4 separate regions of the Homo sapiens genome follow, and all the other regions are linked to region 4. The links are contacts of gene promoters, found by promoter capture Hi-C in blood cells and fetal thymus (Javierre and others, 2016). All regions are on one chromosome and are shown on one strand. The core of a region is centred on a gene start or on the middle of the fragment in contact, and the rest is flanking DNA. Distances in the headings are between cores, read along the strand shown.

Region 1 (2,928 bases), core at 258-2,757, 320 kb before region 4:
CCAAAGCAGGCGGATTACTTCAGGTCAGGAGTTCAAGACCAGCCTGGCCAACATGGTGAAACCCCATCTCTACAAAAATATAAAAATTAGCCAGACATGGTAGCAGGTGCCTGTAATCCCAGGTGCTCAGGAGGCTGAGGCAGGAGAATCGCTTGAACCCGGGAGGTGGAGGTTGCAGTGAACCAAGATTGTGCCACTGCCCTCCAGCCTGGGCAACAGAGTGAGACTCCATCTCAAAAAAAAAAAAAAAAAAAAAGATTTAGCTCTCGAAGCTATAGATGTTAGTCAAAAGGCATTTTCAACAATGGCCCTTTATTTTTACTCAGAATAACATTCATTTTCAGATACTACCTAAGTTGGTTTCACAGTCCTCAGAGCATGAGATCCCTCTTCCTTCAAAAGTGTAAGCAAAAACTTACCATCACACTCTTCCCCCACCCCAGTTCTTAGGATGGGTGAGACCAAAAAAAACCATCTTCTATCCATGTGTTTCACAGTGGGCAGGTTCACACAAATCAGCCCCCAAAGTCTAAGGAAGCTGAGAGGCCAAACAAAGAGGCTGACATGTCCAGTTCCTTAGAAAGAAACATTTAATAGGGACTTACTAATGGAAGCCAGGTCTGTGTCCTGGACAACAGTGAGACAAGATGGTGGATCCTTGTGCTAGTTCTCTCCCGACTCAGAGATTATATACTGTAGGGGAGGGGCACACAGGCTTCAGAGCTAATGGGTAGGAATTTGCCATAAGGCCAGGATTTATAGTAAGTACATGCTCTTATACAAGGAATAATAGATAAACTGGAAATCTCAGAGGCCTTCCCGGAATTGGGGTTAATCAGAAGCTAACATGGCAGATTAGTATCCAAGATGAAGTTGCTTTAGCCTCCATACAACAACGGCTCTTTCTTGGGGGCCTAACTCCTTTCGGTATGCCCAAAATTATTAACAGCAATATTCATTTTCCTTTCTCATCTGGGGCTAAGAAGCAAGTTTACAAAAATTTTCATGACATGTTAAAATATAGAGAGGAAATAAAGGGATATATTTTACTTTCTTCAGTCATCATAAATTCTTTGGAAAATTCAGGTCATAAACTTTGCTCTACCGTGTTTTCTCATGACAAATGCGCCAGACGTCTGCATGCTCACAGACAGAGGAAGGAAACATTGTCACATGTCAAATGGCTAAAAAACACTCCCCAGCCCGCTAACCCACTTGTCCCGGGGTCACTGGCACATCATCTCTCAGGGTTAATAGGATGATTAAATGAGATAAACTATATACAAAGACTCAGTATGGGGCCTGACATATAGAAAGTACTTAATAAGAGTATCACTATGTTAACATTGATATTAATATAAGAGTTCCATATAAACAGCCTCTAGAAAATAAAAACTATGGCTGGGCGTGGTGGTTCACCCTGTAATCTCAGCACTTTGGGAGGCTGAGGTGGGCAGATCACATTAGGTCAGGAGTTCGAGACCAGCCTGGCCAACATGGTGAAACCCCATCTCTACTAAAAAAACAAAAATTAGCTGGGCGTGGGGGTGGGCGCCTGTAATCCCAGCTACTTGGGAGGCTGAGGCAGGAGAATCCCTTGAACCCGGGAGGCGGAGGTTGCAGTGAGCTGAGATCGTGCCATTGCACTCCAGCCTGGGCACAAGACTGAGACTCCATCTCAAAAAAAAAAGAAAGAAAGAAAAGAAAAGACACAGTTTGCCATGTTGTTAGTTTACCCTGATGATTTCAGAATGTGATTCCCTTCTGAGCTGCCACTGCCACAGTGCCTGGACATGTGGCATCCTTTATCAGCTAGAGGCTGGTAAATGTTTAACCTCTTGGCCAGCCCTTTTCTGCCACTAGTCTATCTTTAGGCAGAACTTCAGAGAATCAAGCCAATTTTAATATCAAGCCAGAATTTTTAAATAAGATGAATAGTATGGTTTAGCATTCAAAATAATTTACTAATGATTCCAGCCTGTCTTGTACTGGCTGTGACTCTCCTGTTTTTGTGGCATAGATAATCAAGAAGTGTGTTAAAAACGCTAATGGGTTCAAGATAATAATGATGTAATCTCTTCCTTTCTTGAAGAAAGAAGACGGATAAAATCATTATTACCTAAACTATCTTGTGGAGTTAAAAACAGAATGCACATTCGAAGGAAACGAATTGTGGGAGGAAAGCGAGCACAACTGGTAAAGTCGCATGAAAAGTCACAATGCAACTGCCCAGAAACAGCCTAAATTTGGGGGGAAAGGGGCAGGAGGATGATGTAATTATAAGAGACTGGGAGTCTTGCCATGGAAATATCTTAGGGCTGTTTGTATCGCTATCTGTTAGAATGGCAGTGACCACACAAATGTCTTTTACAGGGAGACCTCCCATGGCAGGTGGCAATTAAGGATGCCAGTGGAATCACCTGTGGGGGAATTTATATTGGTGGCTGTTGGATTCTGACTGCTGCACATTGTCTCAGGTAAAAGATGTCTTCAGTAAATTTTAGATTTCCCGAAACAATGAAAGTGAGTAATAGAGATTGTGGCAGATGATAAAGCATATCTGAAAAAGGTACTGACAAACTCCACTATATTAATTGCAAAGTATCCTCTGGTATTCGCGACTGGAATTCCAGAGGCTAATCCCGTAGAATCTACTGTGTCCTCCACAGACCAAAATTGCTGATCTCACTGGCAAAGGCAGATCAAACCCATAGCTGCCAAATTACTTCACCTGGCTTATTTGCAAAGTGGGAGAGTGGGTAGGTACTACTTACATTTTGTTCTCCACTGTGGCCTACCTATATTTTCTTTACTGTGTGGCTCAAGAGTCATGTTGCCATACCTAGTTTTGATTACTTGTCACCTAAAATGCAATGACTTTGCATTCCTCTTAGGATAAGAATTGAAACAAAAATTTTAACATGGCCC
Region 2 (2,700 bases), core at 19-2,518, 490 kb before region 4:
GGCATGAGCCACTGCGCCCGGCCTGGACATGTCTTTGGTGGACATCTCCAGTTAGGAATGCCCCACAGTCCCAAAAGTCCCCCCGCATGTTAAAAATTGAGATTACATAACACCTTCTGATTAGTTTGCATTTACTGAAAAGCTTGAATTTGATAAAAAATCTAGTTTAAAGATCAACATGTTTTGATATTTGGTTTTTGACAGCTTTTTTAAACAAAAATAATTTTTCACAATTATGTCTACATCAGATGAAATAAATGCATCATTGGCTGTATTTACAAAATCACAAAATTTACTTTTTAATTACATCCCTCGATTATTCACAAATTTTGTTGAATTAGACCAGCAAATTTCTATCTTTCTAGATTTTAAACAGTAAATGAAAACTAACCAGAAGGTATTGCATTTTACGTTTTTAACAAGTGGATTTAAAAAGACAAAAACTCTGTATTTGGAAGATTTTTTTAAAATAGCTTAGAAAGCTGTTTGTAAATGTTTTAAAAGCGCAGACACAAGAATTTTTAACAGGTGACATATTGGCATTGATTCAACAATAAAATCACATAACAATGGAAACATCTCCAACATCTATCTTCAAACTGCTCTCTTCCTACACAAATTTCTTATAATTAGTGGTCACTTTCTCACTTGTTAAAACATCACCTATAACTTGGATAAAGTTTTGTTGTTTTAGTTACTTTTTGGGTAGCATACTACTGACATCTATCTGTAATCACAAAAATTTTTAAAAAGCCAAAAATTGTTAAACACTTGTCCTTTTCTTTTTCTTCTTTTAAAGACGGTGTCACGGCCGAGTGCAGTGGCTCACGCCAGTAATCCCAGCACTTTGGGAGTCCGAGGCAGGCGGACCACGAGGTCAGGAGATCGAGACCATCCTGGCTAACTCGGTGAAACCCCGTCTCTACTAAAAATACAAAAAAAAATTAGCCGGGTGTGGTGGCGGGCGCCTGTAGTCCCAGCTACTCGGGAGGCTGAGGCAGGAGAATGGCGTGAACCCGAGAGGTGGAGCTTGCAGTGAGACGAGATCGCGCCACTGCACTCCAGCTTGGGCGACAGAGAGAGACTCCGTCTCGGAAAAAAAAAAAAAAAAAAAAGACAGTGTCTCACTCTGTTGCCCAGGCTGGAGTGCAGTAGCACAATCCTAGCTCACTGCAGCCTTGAACTCCTGGGCTCAAGAGATCCTCCCGCCTCAGCCTTCCGAAAAGCCAAGACTACAGTCACATACCACCATGCCCAGCTAAGTTTTTAAGTTATTTGTAGAGATAGGGTCTCCTATGTTGCCTAGGCTGGTCACAAACTCTGGCCTCAAGCAATCCTCCTGCTTGTGACATTTGACGTTTTGTGACATGTGACATTTGACTGTTCTATTAAGTGCTTTGCTTCAAGATACTTTGTGGGAAGTATGTAAGACAAAGATTTTTATGATTACTCCCCATCCAGTACAAAGTATTATAAAGAGACTAGTCTTGTTTTATAGGAATAACTACATCAATGATGTTCCATAATGCTTGATGCAATTCCAGTTTCAACTTCTTTGCCACACGTCTTGCTGTGAAGGCTGTGGTGTTCTCTGTGATCTCACCAAGAATGCTTTTTGGTTGATGTCCTAGTAAATGCAGTGGGTGTACCACTGCTGAATACACTTATACCATTTTTTTCATAGAACATTTTCTGATATATAAAAAAGTCATTTCTGACTTCTGAGAACTTTCACTGAGAAAATTTCTTTTCTGTTGCATTTTTCCCTTACTCTCTCATAGAAAAGAATTACAGTTCTCTGAGCATTTCATTGTTGAGGTAATTATGATAGTGGCTAAGATTACTGGCATTGGAGACGGAGTACTCATGTTGACTCTTTATTGGCTCCAATACTATTGACAGTGTGGCCTTCAGCACATGACTTAACCTCTCCGTGTCTTGGTTTCTTCATCTGCAAAAATAAAATGGGAATAATAGTAATACTTACCTCAGAGATTGTTAAAAAGAATAAGTAAAGTAATTCATGTAAAGTGCTTAGAATCTTGTCTGACACATAGTGAGTTCCCAGTAAATTTTGGCTATTACTTTCTAGAAAACAACCATACGCTGTGATATATTAGAAACACCTTTACTTCCATTCAACAGTATAATTGCTTAGTACTTACTTCATCACATTTTCATTGATTCTTTCTGTACAGTTTTCAGCAGTATTTGTTTACAAAGGAACACATTTTAATTTGTTGTCATGTGGTTTTTCATGTATTATTTTAGCAATATTTTACCACAACAGGAAGCAGGAAGAACAAGTGTTTCACCAATAATATCAGGCTTTTCCTCTTTTGCCGTAATGTAAGAAACCTCAAGAGAGGCTTCTGACTTTTTTCATTAAGCTTAGTAAATAGAGTCTTCTTAACTATCATAACTTTGAACACAACTGTAAAAATTATAAAAAATCATTTTCAGATCCTGGATACTCATTTACAAATATCTTGCTTGTCCTGATGGCTTCATGTTACCACTAGCTAACATCTTCCCAGGTACACTTTACAGTTTTTGTGAGGTTCGTCGCTAATAATAACAATTGTAAATCCATTTTTCAGGCTGTCTTCTTGTTAATTTCTCTTTTTAACTTTTTTTGGTCAGATCTATGGAGATTTACGTTGCTTTCAGCTCTTACGTAGCCAACAAAAAGCTCATCCT
Region 3 (2,700 bases), core at 98-2,597, 360 kb before region 4:
ATTAATGTCTGGATGTTTGAAGAAGCAGCCACCTCTTTCAGTCTTCACAGACTGACTTTGGCAGAAAAAGTCTTTCACAAATCAGTCAGCCAGAGATTCTGGGTGGGTCAGCTGGCAAGGCCCGTGTGAACGGCTTGTTGCTTGAGACCATGTGTGGGTGGGCCTGGTGCCTGGGTCTACCAGTGGGCTCGGTGCTGTGGTCCACGGGCAGGCCTGGTGCCACCGTCACTGTGTGGGTAGACAGTCTTGATGCCAGTGCCCAGGAGCAGGGTTGCTCTCTTTTTCCCCCACAAGAGAGCTCATGATCCAAAGGAATCTCTTTCAGCATCGTGTATGCTGTGTAGGGTAAAGGGTAACTCTATAAAGTGAAATTTATTTTCTTATCCTTTCAATTTTTTCTCATATATTTGTTCCACTTGCATGCTGTAACCTCTCACCTTGATCCTGGAGCTCTCATAAAGGTATTTTTATTTGTAGATGGTTGTTACATTGGTGTTTCTGTGGGAAGACAAGTGCTGGGACATTTTGTTCCACCATCTTGCCAATGTCACACGCTTCAACTGTCTTAAATGTGCTCAGAGCTACAGGAAACCCTGATAATAATGTATAAACAAATATAGAATATTAATAAATAAATAGAATTGTTTTGGAGACAGAGTCTTGCTCTGTCACCCAAGCTGGAGTGCAGTGGCACAATCTTGGCTCACTGCAACCTCTGCCTCCCAGGTTCAAGCAATTCTCATGCCTTAGCCCCCTGAATAGCTGGAATTACAGGTGCCCACCACCACACCCAGCTAATTTTTGTATTTTTAGTAAAGATGGGGTTTCACCATGTTGGCCAGGCTGGTTTTGAACTCCTGAACCTCAAGTGATCCACCCACCTCACCCTCCCAAAGTGCTGGGATTACAGGTATGAGCCACCGTGACTGGCCAACAAATAGAAATTTTAAAAAGGAACTAGACAAAACTTCTGGAGTTGAAAAGCACAATAACAAACATGAAAAATTTTCTAATAGGTTTCAGTAGAAGATTTGAGCAGGCAGAAGAAATAGTCAACAAACTTGAAGATCAGTCCATTTAATTAATTATCCAGTATGAGAAGCAGAAAGAAAAAAGGATGACAAGGAATGAACAGAGCCTATGAGACTCGTGTGACACCATAAAGCATACCAAAATATATATAATGGAACCCCAGAAGGAGAAAATAAGAAAGTAAGAGAGAATATATGAAGAAATAATGGCTGAAAAATTTCCACATTTGATCAAATGCATGGCTGTCCACATTCAAAAAGCTCAATGCAATCCAAGAAGGATAAACACAAAAAGGTTCAAACCAAGACACATTATAATCAAATTGTCAAAACCAAGGATGAAGAAAGTCTTGAAAACAACATAGTCATGAGATTCCGTAAGATTAGCAGCAGCTTTCTCATCAGAAACCATGGAGGGCAGATGAAAATTTTATTTGTTGAAAGTAAAAAACTGTCAACCAAGAATTCTGTATCTGGCAAAACTATCCTTCACAAATGAAGGAGAAATGAAGAAATTCACAGATAAATAGAGGCTGAAGGAGTTAGCTACTAATAGACCTGTCCTACAGGAAATGCACTACAAGTAGCTGGGTGTGGTGGCTCATTGCCTATAATCCCAGCACTTTAGGGGAATGAGGCAGGAGGACTGCTTAAGCCCAGGAGTTCAAGACTATCCTGGAAAACACAGCAGGAGCCCATCTCTCTAAAAAATAAAATTAGCTAGGTGTAGTGGCATGTATCTGTAGTCTCAGCTACTCGGGAGGCTGAGGTGGGAGAATCACTTGAGCTCAGGAGTTCAAAACTGCAGTGAGCTCTGACTACACCACTTCATTCAAACCTGGGCAACAGAGTGAGATCATCTCTAAAATAAAATTAAATTAAAATAAAGAAATACAGTGCAAGTCAGAGAACCCTGCATACTGCAGTGAAAGGACATTTGGCAGTTACTTGAAGTAATATGAAGAAATAAAGAACTCCAGTAAAGGTAACTACATAGGTAAATATAAAAGCCAGTATTATATTATTTTGGTTTTGTATCTCTTCTTTTCCTTTCCCACATGAGTTAAAAGACAACTATATAAAACGATTCTAATTCTGTGTTAACAGTGCACAATGTATAAAGATGTAACATGACAATAACAACATAAAGGAATGGATGGAGCAGTATAGGAACAGAGTTTTGTATGCTCTCAAAGCCAAGTTATCAATTCAAACTAGATTACTATAAATTTAATCACTATTAATTGTAATCTCCATAGTACCGAAAAAGAAAATATCTAAAAAATATACACAGAAGGAAATAAAGAGAGAACTGAAATAGTTGAATATGAAAAAATCAACTAAACACAAAAAGGGCAGTAATGGAGAAAATGAGAAACAAAAAAGGTATAAGACATACAATAAACAAATAGCAAATAGAAGAGTAAGTCCTTTCTTATCAGCAATTACTTTAAATGGAAGTGGATTAAATTCTAATATCAAAAGGCAGAGATTGGCAGAATCAGTTTTTTAAAATTATTATCCAACTATATGCTGTCTAAAGAGGCTGCCTTTAGGTCCAAAGAAATAAAGGATAGAAAAGATATTATGTGCAAATAACAATCAAAAAAGAGCTAAAGTGGCTATACTAATACCAGACAAAATAGACCTTAAGTCAAAAACCGTTACA
Region 4 (2,930 bases), core at 120-2,619:
ACGATACACTTCATGTTTGAAAAGCATCAGTTGTAAAACTTAGATGTTGATTAAACTAATTCATAAAGTCCAGCAGATTTTCATTAGGAAATTAGATAAAACAGGTCAATCATCTGGAGAGTACTAATGCAGTTTGGTTCTCGTACCAACACAGGACAGAGGTATTTTTCTAAATTCAGTCAATTACTTTCCAAGGTTCTCATCTGACATACTAAGAAGTCTGTAAGGAGAATTCCTCCACCCTTGGCCCCTATCCGCGAACATTCCAAATCTCAGCATTAGGGAATGCATATCCATCATTTTGCAGCCTACTAAAAGCCCACGACCTTAATATGAAAGCGGCTTTCGTGCTGCATTTGGCTGCTGCCTGTATGAAGGCCCTGCCTCAAAGCAGGGCCAACTCTGGCACGTTTTTTCATCTCTGAAAGTGGAGCTAGGAAAAACACCCAGATCTAAAGATGTTCGTTTAAATCCGTTTACATCTGCTCCCTTTCAAACACTACAAGCAAACTCCAAAAGCTTGAGCAGCAGCCGCAGCGGCAATGACAGTTCTTGAGGCCGAACTGGGTCAGGGTTACAGTTACACTTATATAGCATATTTACACCCTTTTGTCTACAAACTTGAGTGCAAACTTAAGTTTCCTCAAGGCAGCGTGTTCGCTGGGCCTCGGGAACCGAAGCAATTTTCCTGAGACAGGAAGGGCACAATCCACCCTGCTGGGTGGCTGCACCAGCCTTCTCCGGACCACGCACTCAGCGGCCTCGGCTTCTGGCCAGCTCTCGCAGCCAAGGGGTCGCTCGGGGCAACTCGCCCGCGTCCAGGCTAGGTAACTGGGTTTTACTACGTGGGCTCCCAGCTTTTCAGTCGCCCCTACTCGCCCGAGGCCGTTTCGGGCCTGGGGTCGCATTACATAAACAGCCACGGCCCCAGCTTTCCCAGGCCGGCCCCCGCCCCCACGCCAGGGGCGTCCCACCCCCGCGCGCCCCGCGCCGTGCCTTCCCTGCCCCCTACCCGCACCCAACCCGGACCCCGCGGCCTCCGCACCGCGCCCGCTCCCGTCCCTCGGGCCGGGCCTGGCCCCGAACGCCCTTCCCGGCCCGGCCCGCCCCGCCCCGATGTGGCCGTGCAGGCCGCCCAGCCGGTGCTAGGCCCCGCGCTCCGCCCGGGCCGCCCGCCTCACCGTTCTGCTGGTGCGGCGCCGGGCCCGCACCCGGGCCCGCGGGCGCTGCGGCTCCTGAGACGGCCGCTCCGCCGAACTTGGGCGGGATCCGGGCGCTGGCGGCCGGGTGAGAGGACCCGGCGGGGGCCGACATGACGGCGCTGGTGGCGACGGCGGCTCCGCTTCAGGGAGGTGGGCGGAGGGAAGGGAAGGCGGGGCCGGAGAGGAGAGAGGAAGAGGAAGGAACGCGCCTGGCGTCACTGAGGGTGTCACCCGGGACCGCGGCTCAGGTACCCAAGCTTCTCCGCGAGTCCAGCGCTGCCACTCGGCGGCCGCCGCGGGCGCGGGGATCCTGGGTCGCTCCGCCTTGACCCACGCGCCCCACGCCCCGGGACTTACACCTGGGGTCGCTCCCCGCACGCGCGGGCCTCGCGCCGGTGCCGCCGCAGCGCCCCCTGCAGGCCGGAGCCGAGCTGGCCCAGGCCTGAGTCTGGCCCGGGGTTCCGTGGCCCCAGTGCCGGCCCCGCGGCTGCTGCTCCGGCCCGGCCAGGTGCCTTCGTGTTGAGGCGAAAGGACTGGGCCTCAGTGGGTGAAGGGACCGGGTGGCCCGCTTCCACCTAGGGCAGAGGCTGGATCGGCCGCGGCGAGGCTGGGCCCAGCATTACTGGGAGGGGAACTTGAGAGCCGCGGGTTGATGTTCGGAGCTCAGGCGACGACTGACCACCCACCCTTCCTCGAAGAGGAACAATGGCTTGGGTTTGGTTTTTAATTTTTGATTCCCCCACCTCCCCTTTCTTGATTCCAAAGGAAATATAGCATTCAAGCGCCATGTCTGTTGGGAATATATAATTCCTTGGCAAAGAAAGAGGAAACATTTCTCTGATAAACACAAGAATCTCAGTAAGAATTGCATTATTGAGAACTTTTCCCACTGATAAAGTAGGGAAGAGGAAGGGGAAAATAGGGTAAGGGAATGCTGGAAGACAAACTTTAAACTTTATCTCCTTTTTTTTTTTTTTTTTTGTCGATTGTTGGTGCATCCTGTTGGTGTTCCGAGAAGTTGTGGCTCAGCTTGCTTTGTCTACATTAGTGGAATCTTTAAGTCTTTCTGGTCTGTCTCAGCATACTCACTGGCAGGCCCTAGACTACATTACCCAAGTCATTTTGCCGTCTTGGAATCCTGAGTATGTCATCACTCTGTATTGGAGATGAGATTGCTCAGAAACACTGAATTCAGAATGGGATCTAGCAAGATGGTATTTCTGGAGCAATAAGTCATTTACTGAATGATTATGCAAAGCATAAATTGCATTGTAGTCCTAGAATAATACAAAGCTTCCCTTTAGTTGTTGCCGTAAATTAATAACTGGCATTTTAATGCACTAAATGAATTTTAGTAGTTAGATTTATATCTTTGACTTCTAGGAATTTCAACTACATTAGAGTTCATATACACAAAAGGGGCAAGCCCTTTTCCACAGCATTTCCAGCTTCTCCACAGAAACCTAGCCCCACATGAGCAAAAGATCACACTCTGTGCTTCATCAAAGAGATTACACAATTACAGATTCCAGCATCTCCCAGGAGTCCTTTGAATTTGGATTAAGGTCTATAATTACGTGGGTAAGGGAATAACTAGGTAATTGGCTTTCTGCACCTGGAATGTATTCTCCTGGGTATAAGAGGCTCCTTTTAATCAGAAGTATATGGGATGAAAGTGAACCCTGTCTCTTAAGGGGAGACTCCTTAAGAGGAGGATTGGGGCCCTGT

What was found. Contacts are between HindIII fragments. The CHiCAGO score rates a contact against its expected background, and 5 or more counts as called.
Region 1: a fragment that was not itself captured here is called in contact with the fragment with the promoter of SEC24B in region 4 in 3 of 17 cell types (fetal thymus, non-activated CD4 T cells and total B cells); the score reaches 7.9 in fetal thymus.
Region 2: a fragment that was not itself captured here is called in contact with the fragment with the promoter of SEC24B in region 4 in 1 of 17 cell types (megakaryocytes); the score reaches 6.7 in megakaryocytes.
Region 3: a fragment that was not itself captured here is called in contact with the fragment with the promoter of SEC24B in region 4 in 5 of 17 cell types (total B cells, naive B cells, non-activated CD4 T cells and 2 more); the score reaches 7.5 in total B cells.

The regions. Positions count from the first base shown.
Region 1 is chr4:109,748,767-109,751,694 of GRCh38, reverse strand. It overlaps CFI (complement factor I), which reads left to right. Exons shown (of 13, transcript NM_000204.5): 9 at 2,093-2,196; 10 at 2,374-2,477. Among named protein-coding and RNA genes, the nearest start is that of PLA2G12A, 20 kb to the right of the region's middle. The HindIII fragment of the contact is 4,038 bases long and covers 1-2,928 here.
Region 2 is chr4:109,924,766-109,927,465 of GRCh38, reverse strand. All of the region lies in intron 1 of EGF (epidermal growth factor), which reads right to left. Among named protein-coding and RNA genes, the nearest start is that of EGF, 13 kb to the right of the region's middle. The HindIII fragment of the contact is 2,248 bases long and covers 145-2,392 here.
Region 3 is chr4:109,792,742-109,795,441 of GRCh38, reverse strand. All of the region lies in intron 1 of CFI (complement factor I), which reads left to right. Among named protein-coding and RNA genes, the nearest start is that of CFI, 7.9 kb to the left of the region's middle. The HindIII fragment of the contact is 3,666 bases long and covers 1-2,700 here.
Region 4 is chr4:109,432,254-109,435,183 of GRCh38, reverse strand. SEC24B (SEC24 homolog B, COPII component) reads right to left here and starts at 1,369. Exons shown (of 24, transcript NM_006323.5): 1 at 1,182-1,369. The coding sequence starts at 1,314. It overlaps SEC24B-AS1 (SEC24B antisense RNA 1), which reads left to right and starts at 1,367. Exons shown (of 3, transcript NR_039978.1): 1 at 1,367-1,450. RefSeq lists enhancers at 390-539, 616-1,475 and silencers at 357-651, 1,030-1,299, 1,350-1,739. The HindIII fragment of the contact is 940 bases long and covers 522-1,461 here.